2 separate regions of the Homo sapiens genome follow, and region 2 is linked to region 1. The links are contacts of gene promoters, found by promoter capture Hi-C in blood cells and fetal thymus (Javierre and others, 2016). All regions are on one chromosome and are shown on one strand. Each heading gives the region's core, a stretch centred on a gene start or on the middle of the fragment in contact. The rest is flanking DNA. Distances are from core to core; before and after follow the strand shown.

Region 1 (4,623 bases), core at 644-3,143:
GTTTTTAAACACATTCCCTTGTCCTGTTTAAGGTTTCAGGCTCTGTATAACTATACTCCCAGGAATGAAGATGAGCTGGAGCTCAGAGAAAGTGATGTCATTGATGTCATGGAAAAGTGTGATGACGGCTGGTTTGTGGGTATGTGCGCTTCTTCCTCAGGCACCTTCGGCTATTTTGTAATTTGCTTGAGTTTGCTCACTCCCGTGGTTTGCTGTGATGGCCGAGCTTCCTTTGAATTCGTAATGCCTTTGATCTTTCAGACATTCATATGCACAATGTAATCCCAAGGCTATTGCATTTTTAATATAGTTTAGTATTCACTGCTTCAGCTATGTGTGATTTTCTGCGAGCTTTATTTCCAACTCAACTGAGAGAAGACAATTTCTTTAAATAGCAAAAACCAGGAAAGATTGAGATCTAAGAACAACAACAACAAATGGTCCCCAGAAGAGAAATATCAACGCTCTGTGCTGTGGAAAATGTTAGTTGTCCACAGTGAGAATCTAATTTCAGAGGGAGTGAGATTAAGTGAACAGCTCTCCCGTTTCCTAGGTCTGACGTAGATGCCCGAACATTCAGTGACTCACCTTAACTTTAGTTTGTGGTGGAAGCAGAGAGACGTTCCATTCTTCCCACTTAAAAGGCAACTTCATCTTTACCATCCTAAAAAAAAAGACGAGAGGTCTTCTGGGAAAACATTTGTAGACAAAAGTATTTTACACTGGGCCACAGAAAGAGGTGAAAAGGAAACACAGGCTGCAGGGCAGAGAATGGAAGAGAGGAAAGGTGAGAGGAGAGGAGGGCTCACTCTAGACATCCATCGGTGGCAAAATCATGAAAGAATTGAGGCCCTGGTGCGGCCACAAGCCTCTGATTTTATTTCCATTAAAAGAAGAAAAAAAGGCCGGGTGCGGTGGCTCATGCCTGTAATTCTAGCACTTTGGGAGGCCGAGGCGGGTGGATTACCTGAGGCCAGGAGTTCGAGGCCAGCCTGGTCAACATGGTGAAACCCCGTATCTACCAAAAGTACAATAATCAGCTGGGCTTGGTGGCAGGTGCCTGTAATCCCAGCCACTCAGGAGGCTAAGGCAGGAGAATTGCTTGAACCCAAGAGGCAGAGGTTGCAGTGAGCCGAGATCATGCCACTGCACTCCAGCCTGGGCGACAAGAGCGAAACTCCATCTCAAAAACAAGGAGGAGGAGGAGGAGGGAGGAGGAGGAGGGAGGAGAAACGTAAAATGGCTTGCCTAGCCAAGGAAAAAGAAAAACAGCCATCAAACCAAGGCAGTAAGTGCCAGGATATAGGAGACAGATGAAGCTTGAGAGACCCTTATCCGGTCCATCTGCGCTGCCTAAAGAAGAATTTAGCAATTTAGTGCACCAACTTTTACAAGAAGTGTCCAAGGAATTACATTATTTGAAACCAGAGGCGAACATAATTATGATAGCCATTTGTGCGTGTGGTTAAACACACACCATGTTAAAAATCATGCCACTGATAGAACTCCCACACACAAATAGTGCTTAATCCTTTTTTTCATTAATGATTTGTAAATTGTTGAAAAATTGTATACTCGATGAAGGACTCTGGCAGTGCTGTTTTTAAATAAATGATGTGGCACTGACCATGATCTTCTGTAAGATGATAAAACTGTTGGAACAGCGACAGCCTGCCACAGATGATGTCTTCATGTCGCACCTGTGTTGCGCGGGTTGCTGGTCCCTGAGAAGCTTTGCTCTTAGGATTTTCCACTCACCCTGTCACCTGTCAGCCTCGCCTTGATCCCTCACCCCCGACTCTGGTGTGGCAGCCTCAGTGACTGAGCTCCTCCGCCCCCCTCCTCAGCAGGGCTGACTTTCCCTTTAGCTTGGGAGGCTCAGCATTTCTGTTTAGCCTGCCGCGATGGCAGCGCAGCATTTATGCCGGAGGGGCAGTGAGAGCGTCAGGCAACCAGCTAACACTGCTTATTTTGTCTGCCTATGGGCTTCATGTGAGTTGCCTGCCTTCTTTTCCAAACCCCTCGGGGCTTGCTGTCTTCCGAGGCCTTGTAAATGGGAAGTATTCAAGCCCATGTGTATGAACTGATATCGTTGTCACCCCCCTTTCATGACTCGCTTCTATTTTCAGGGACCTCAAGAAGAACCAAATTCTTTGGTACTTTCCCCGGAAACTACGTCAAGAGGCTGTGAATTGCGCTCCCTCCTTCTGTAGAGGCCGCCTGCCAGCCATGCACCTGCGTCAACGCGCCTGAAACACCCCGCGGGCCTCCCGTTGTCATGCCTTACGGTTTCCAATGCGCCGTCACCATCTCCACCTGCCACCAAACCACCAGCAGAGTAGCCGCCGCTGCTGTGAGCCTGGGGACGACATGGCAGGCTGGTCCCCCTCCGTGAAAGTGTGGATTCCTACTTCCTGCTCTAAGCTTTGACACGTCAAAATGTGGGATCAGAAAGAAAAAAATCATGATATTTAAAAATGGTCAAATATTTGAGGCAAAAAAAAAAAAAAAAAGTGTCTCCAGGAGGCTGTCCAGCCTCGTGGCTCCATTTCAACATCTCCCCCCAGGCGATGTTCTCCCCCAAGACGACCAGAAAATTGTTTATTGGGGAATGCTGTGGTTTGCATTTTCATATTCTTCGCTTGGCAGTGTGTATTCTTTTCACAAGTTTGCCTAGTGTCTTGGTTTACACAATATGACAACTGTAACTGTACTTTAGCTATTGTTTGCCTGCACATACATGTTGTAATATGCACAGTGATTACAACCTTTAAAGCAAGAGGAGGCGAGTTAATTTGGATGAGTGTGATTTTGCTGATTGAATGTGAGTTTTCAAATAGGAGTCTTTTTCTGCAATTTGTTTGCATTTTTTAGAAGTGCAAACAGTAAGTAAATAAAAGCCTTCGGTAATAATCATGACAATACAAGAGGCTGAGCTAGGCTACAGGGGAAAACTATTGTGTTGTAAAGTTGCATCGCTATTTTATATTAAAATGTAATGATCAGCATCATGAACAATGAGCTCTTAGTGTTTTATTTATCTGAAAAAATGTAAGTAAAAGCAGTGTTAGTGAGAGGTGCAAAGAATTATTCTAACAGACACCTGAAAGTATCTGTAAGCAATACTAGTAGGTAAGATTTCACTGTGTGTACACATACACATTTGAGATTGTATGAGAACATATAATCCATATGATATGTTGTACATTTTATGGAAATGTAATAGAATCTCACACATTATTTTATAGAAATAGAGTACAGAAGCATCACAAGTATTAAAGTTGGTTTTAGCAAGGATTAGGATTACTACAATTATTTTTACTATAATAATTATTTTTCTTCTATGGAACTCAGAATCCTGGCTACATTTGAGGACAGGAATATGTTGAGCCTGATTTTCCTGGTGTGTGTAAAATATTTCCTAGGAATAAATTAGGCACTTTTTAGAAGCAATGTTAAATCATTCAGGTTTTATTTTCTGCCCTGAAGCAGAAATTTAAAAAATGATATTGGGACCTGGAAGGTTTAATATGGTTCACAGTGCCTGAATTACACCTGCTCCGAAAACTAGCTTTGTATTTCTTATGACTTTGCATAAGAACTGTTCATCTTTGGATCTTGAGCACCTTACAGATAAAACTTTTTATGGCATCTCTTTCATGGACAGTGATATTGATCTTTTCACAATGTACGTAGCCTCTAGAATTTTGTACATATGTTTGCTCTTTTTTTGTACAGACTAGTTGTTGAGAAAACAGGGGCGTTTCCTAATTTGGTCTTTATCCTGCGACAACACTTTCAGCAGACTAGCCTCTCCTTATCTCACAGATCACAAGCACCCCTAGATAGTGTGATTCTGTCAGATAGCATTTATGCAAAAATCTATGAAGTTAAAAGATCGTAGAAGCCAAATGAAATGTACATATCTACTGACTGATGACAAGGGAATTTCATTAGGAAGAAGGTAAAGAAACATCGTTGAGTAGCCTACCTTGATTTCTGTCAAGTTCATAACCAGCTTCATATTTTAAAGGCTTCAGGTTTGAAATTAAGTCAACTGCATGCAGCTTTGCTGATAAATGAATAATTCTCTTTGATGCCATTTATGAGAAAAGACTTCAATATCTGTTGCCTGTCATATTTAAGAAAAATTACTGTTTCTACTCTCTGTATCTGATTTTAAAAGAAAAAACTATTCATACCTGGCTTCCAGGTAATTGACTTTGAATTCTTACAAGCAAAGGTCATTGTGTTTTTCTTGAATAGACATCTAATAAATTTTGCTTGGAAGTATACTTCAGTTTTTCTTCTTGACATTTATCTTTATAAAAATTGTGTATTTTATTCCAACTTGTTAAACTAAGAGAAAATGCATTTTGTTGTGTGTTCTTTTAACACAAACATGGAGAAAAGCTGTGTCAGCATCAGCTCAGAGAAGAAATATTTTTAAACCCACCACCAAAGCTCATTTGCTAAACGTTCTTTGGCTAAAAATTGCCCTTCAGTTAAAACAATACATTGTAAAATATTTCTGCCTCAAAACAGCTAGTTTTCCAAGGAGGGGTTAGTTACAAGGAGTTGTAAGCACTTTCCCAGTTCAACACTCTGAAATTTTAAAATCTT
Region 2 (4,202 bases), core at 264-2,763, 430 kb before region 1:
TGCTGTCCATATTGCAGAAGAGGGCAGGGCCCAGGGAGCTGAATCCCGGCAAGTCCACGCTGCTGAGCTCCCAAGACCTTCAGTAAAGTAGGATTGTCTCTTTCACACCTAGCCCTGCATCCACCGCCATCGACCCAGGGTAAGGACCAGCACATGAAGGCCAAACTCCTTCCCTCGTTTCCCTTTACACCCATGTCTGCCTGTGAGAAGCCCTGGCTCATTCTCCTTCAGCCACAGGCCTCAGGAAGTCTCCTCCCTAGCGGTTGTCTCAGGCACTCTGGGTTCCAGCATGGCCTACGTGAAGCCTTCCTTAAAAGTGACAGCGCAGGACGTCCCCACTCAGGAAGCTCACACTCACGACTGTGCCTCTTCCTACACTCAGTAGAGTAAACTGTTTACAGTAGATGCTGACCAAGTGTTAGGTGAGAGTGGTGACGATGAGTGTGGAAATCTGCCTTAATTTTATGAGTTACCAACCTGTCATTGACTTCATGTTCATTCTGGCAAGAGCTAAGAGAGATACTATTGAGTATTTTAACACAGACTTCACTTGCTTGGGTGAACTGTAGACAGAATCCATCTTTAATGACCTATTTCTGTTACTGAACTGAACTGGTGTCTGCTCTCCTGTGGGGTGAGGCCAAACATCCACACCGTGGTTTGCAGCAGGGGAAAGCAAGGTGTTTATTTGCAGGATGCCAAGGAAAGAGAATTGGGCAGCTTACAATTGAGACCTGACCTCTCGGTGGCTTACAGGTAGGAGATTTTAAATCTGGAGAAGCAGAGATTGCAGGCAAAGAAGTCAATTAATATATTGAGGCTCTATATTGGTTTGGCCTAAAAAAGTAGGGTGTCATGAAGCAGGGTTCCACAGGTCACAGGTGGATTCAAAGATGTTGGGGTTTGCAATTGGGTAAGGAGGTGAAGCTTTATCTAAATACCCCATGACTTTACCAAACACCCCATGACTTCAACTCCCTTGGTTATTGTTTTAAGCTACTATTACCTTCTTGCTGGTCAAGTTGCTCATTTACTCTTCAGGGATAGCTGGGTGCCTGGAATTCCCCTTGAAGAAATTCAAGATTTTTCTTTCATGCTTGAGGGACTTGCAGGCCCCTAAGAGGGATCCCTGCTCTGTCTCATTTCTAATGGTTTGTTGTTAGGAAACCTCTCTAATGAGACCATGAAGTTCTTGAGGTGAAGGCACTGATCTTATATCTCTCCTTTTTTTATCTTATTGTTGTTACACACACTCTCCATAAACTCCATTTTGAGAAACCCAGGTTTCAGCTGCCACTGCTTGTGTTTCTTGCTCAATCCCTCTTGTGTCCATCTCCAACAATCCTCTCTCAGAGACATCCTTCAAATCTTTGCTAAAATGTCACCTTCACAAAGACCTTTTCTTACTGTCTTATTTAAAGTGGCAGGCCTCCTCTCCCCCATCGTGGCATCATTTTACCCCCTGGCTTTTATCACCACCTGACATGCCATATATTTTCACCTTGTTTATTGCCAGCACCCGCCTACCCCACTACAAAATAAGCTCCATGAGGGAGCTTTGTCTATTTAGTCCACTACTGTATCCTCAATGTCTGCAAAAGTGTCTAGCACATAATCAACACTTCATAAACAGGTGTTGAATAAATAAATCCATCAAGCATTTCACACAGCATTTTCCCCAAAGCAGGCAGTTAGGAAATATTTATTTGAGCTAACACAGCTATGTTTTCATCAGTTCAGGAAAGTGGAAGGTCAAGGGTCACTTATAGAAGGTGCCACCAGAGCCTAGGGTAGCTCACCAACTGTTAAAATCTCCAGAGAAGGGATAAATGCAATCTTGGGGGGTAGCAAAACAAGCAAAGAATGTTTTGATATGAAGTCCTTTGGAATTGGAATTATGGAAGGCCCTGGAACTAGCTGAGCTTCTAGGATGATTAGTGGAGGATTTCAAAACCATTTGCACTGCAGTTCTCTTTTGGTGGTGTCAGGCTTCCAAACCAAAGACATGTCTAGAAATGCAGGACAGCATATCACGGGGACCTCTGTAACAGCAACAAAACCCCATGGATAGCATGTGACGTCATGGTAACAAAGCTTCATGCTACAAAACACAGAGAGATAGAGGGTGTTTAGTGGGATAACACTTTGCAATAGTAACCGTTCTTGATATTTCCTTTTTTTTTTTTTTTCCCACCTGGGAGACTAGATATGAATTTTCCATTGCCCAAGTGTTATTTGACACTGCAGAATGCATGTGTCTAACCATGTCTTTTTATTTTATGTATATTTATGGTTTGACATTGGAGTCTGGCTGAGCCTGGGGGGACTGGCAGTCAGTTAGCTTACTACTGTCTCTAGTTAGCCGATTCCTAGAGACAGTGAAGGACCCCCGCCTCCAGAGAGAGCCTTTCAAATGCACATGAACCAATCCAAAGCCCATGCCCCTAACCACGTCCTCTACTGGGGATCTCAAATTCAACATGATTCCCCCTGCCCTGATCACCCCAAACCAGGTACCAGACAGTTAGGGACAGGCCCTATGCCCAGAGTCTGCTGAAATTATTCAAGCTCTCCACCCTGAGCCTGCTCACCCTGCCTTGCCTGCTCCTTCCCATGGAATCCTCTCCCCAGCATTCTCCCCCTGCTCACTCTGCCTCCTGCCTGACCCGGGTGCTACCCGTGTGGCCACACACTGTAGGCGCTCACTCCTCTTGGCATCTGTGAGCATCAGACTTTTTTTTCAATGGTAGTCATCTCCTATCTACTGGTCTTGCCCTATCAAAATTATAACAAAACCTGTGCTTTAAAACAGTATAGGGAAGAAAAGAAGTTAATTCTTGGCATTTCAGGGCCTCTGTAGCTGCGGTACTGGCATATGAACAAACAACTACATTAACAACAAAAAAGATTGGAAAGGATGCACATTCTAAAATTTGGAGAAGAGGAAAGAAGAAGAGAGATGTGGAGGTCATAGGGCGGGCCCCAAAACTGACCTATTCATGCCCCTCTGCTCCCTTCCCCAGGGCTCAGCTTGAAGGAAGAGGTCAGGGTGCTGAACGATGGCCTGAGACACCCTAATAACCAACACAACCAACACCCCTTCTCTCTGCAGGTTCTCTCTGCAGCTCTAGCACCTGGCATCCTCAGACATCTTCTTAATACTCACGCAAGTTCTACAGATGAGAAAATGAGGCTTCAAAAGATGAAGACCACACGATGACTGAATGGATGGTGCTGAGTTATAATAGCAGTATCTGTCATGTATGGGTTGCTTCCTATGGGATAAGCACAATGATGCCATTTCATTTTATCCACTCAATGGCATACACTGGGATAGCATAACAATAGAACACATGGGACTCTGAATTCTGCAGGCTAGGTTTAATTCTGTTTCTGCTACATAATAGCAAAAGAGTTCATCTTGATTCTGCTACATAATAGCAAAACAGTTCATCTTGATTCTGCTACATAATAGCAAAACAGTTCATCTTGCTTTAAGTCATAAGTCACGGCTCCGAAAAGGACACCCCAAGTATGGCCTTGACCTGCTGAGGACTTTGAACTAAAGGGCATTGGAAAGCCTCAGAAGCAGCCTCAGAACCAAGTCTCTGACCTTCTCCTGCCCTCCTGTCTCTCGCCCCTCATTCCCCCAAGAAGTGAGTCATAGAAACCAGAAATCCTCTTCCCTAAAGCAGGTCACGGAAACTAGAATCTCTTTCCCCAAAGCCAGCCATTAGAAACTAGAATCACTACTGGAACTTTCCCTGCCTTTCTGAGTAAGAGCTGGCCATAAAGAAGTTCTCTGACTTACTTTCCTGAAAGTAGGTTATAAGACCCTCATTCCAGAAGGGGCCCTGCCCTACACGCAGGAAGAAGGAACGCCACACAGGGAGGCCAAGAGGAACCCAGACAGGCCCAGCTGGGTCCCCCTCTGTCTGTCACTGTCCCATCGCTCCCTCTGTGTCCAGTCACAGCTCCGCAGGGCTACCACTCTTCATCAAATCTAAGCATAGAAATGGGCAGTTTTCCCTTGGTTCTTTGGGTCTTCATTTCCTAAGGCTCCCATGTTATGTAAAACTTTGATTAAACAAATCTGTGTGCTTTTCTCTTGTTAACCTGTCTTTTGTTACAGGAGAATCGGCAGTGGCCCCTTAGCATGGTGGCACACGTCTGTAATCCCAGGTACTTGGGAGGCTGAGGCA

Evidence for each region. Contacts are between HindIII fragments. The CHiCAGO score rates a contact against its expected background, and 5 or more counts as called.
Region 2: a fragment that was not itself captured here is called in contact with the fragment with the promoter of SORBS2-AS1 in region 1 in 4 of 17 cell types (M1 macrophages, M0 macrophages, endothelial precursors and 1 more); the score reaches 6.7 in M1 macrophages.

What each region holds. Positions count from the first base shown.
Region 1 is chr4:185,585,195-185,589,817 of GRCh38, reverse strand. It overlaps SORBS2-AS1 (SORBS2 antisense RNA 1), which reads right to left and starts at 1,893. Exons shown (of 4, transcript NR_186082.1): 1 at 1,628-1,893; 2 at 589-664. SORBS2 (sorbin and SH3 domain containing 2) reads left to right here. Exons shown (of 27, transcript NM_001395207.1): 26 at 33-139; 27 at 2,130-4,295. The coding sequence ends at 2,191. RefSeq lists enhancers at 2,239-2,318, 1,597-2,796. The HindIII fragment of the contact is 692 bases long and covers 1,735-2,426 here.
Region 2 is chr4:186,016,352-186,020,553 of GRCh38, reverse strand. All of the region lies in intron 1 of LOC124900830 (a long non-coding RNA gene), which reads left to right. LOC124900829 (a long non-coding RNA gene) reads right to left here and starts at 3,242. Exons shown (of 2, transcript XR_007058418.1): 1 at 3,167-3,242; 2 at 1,673-2,101. The HindIII fragment of the contact is 1,167 bases long and covers 930-2,096 here.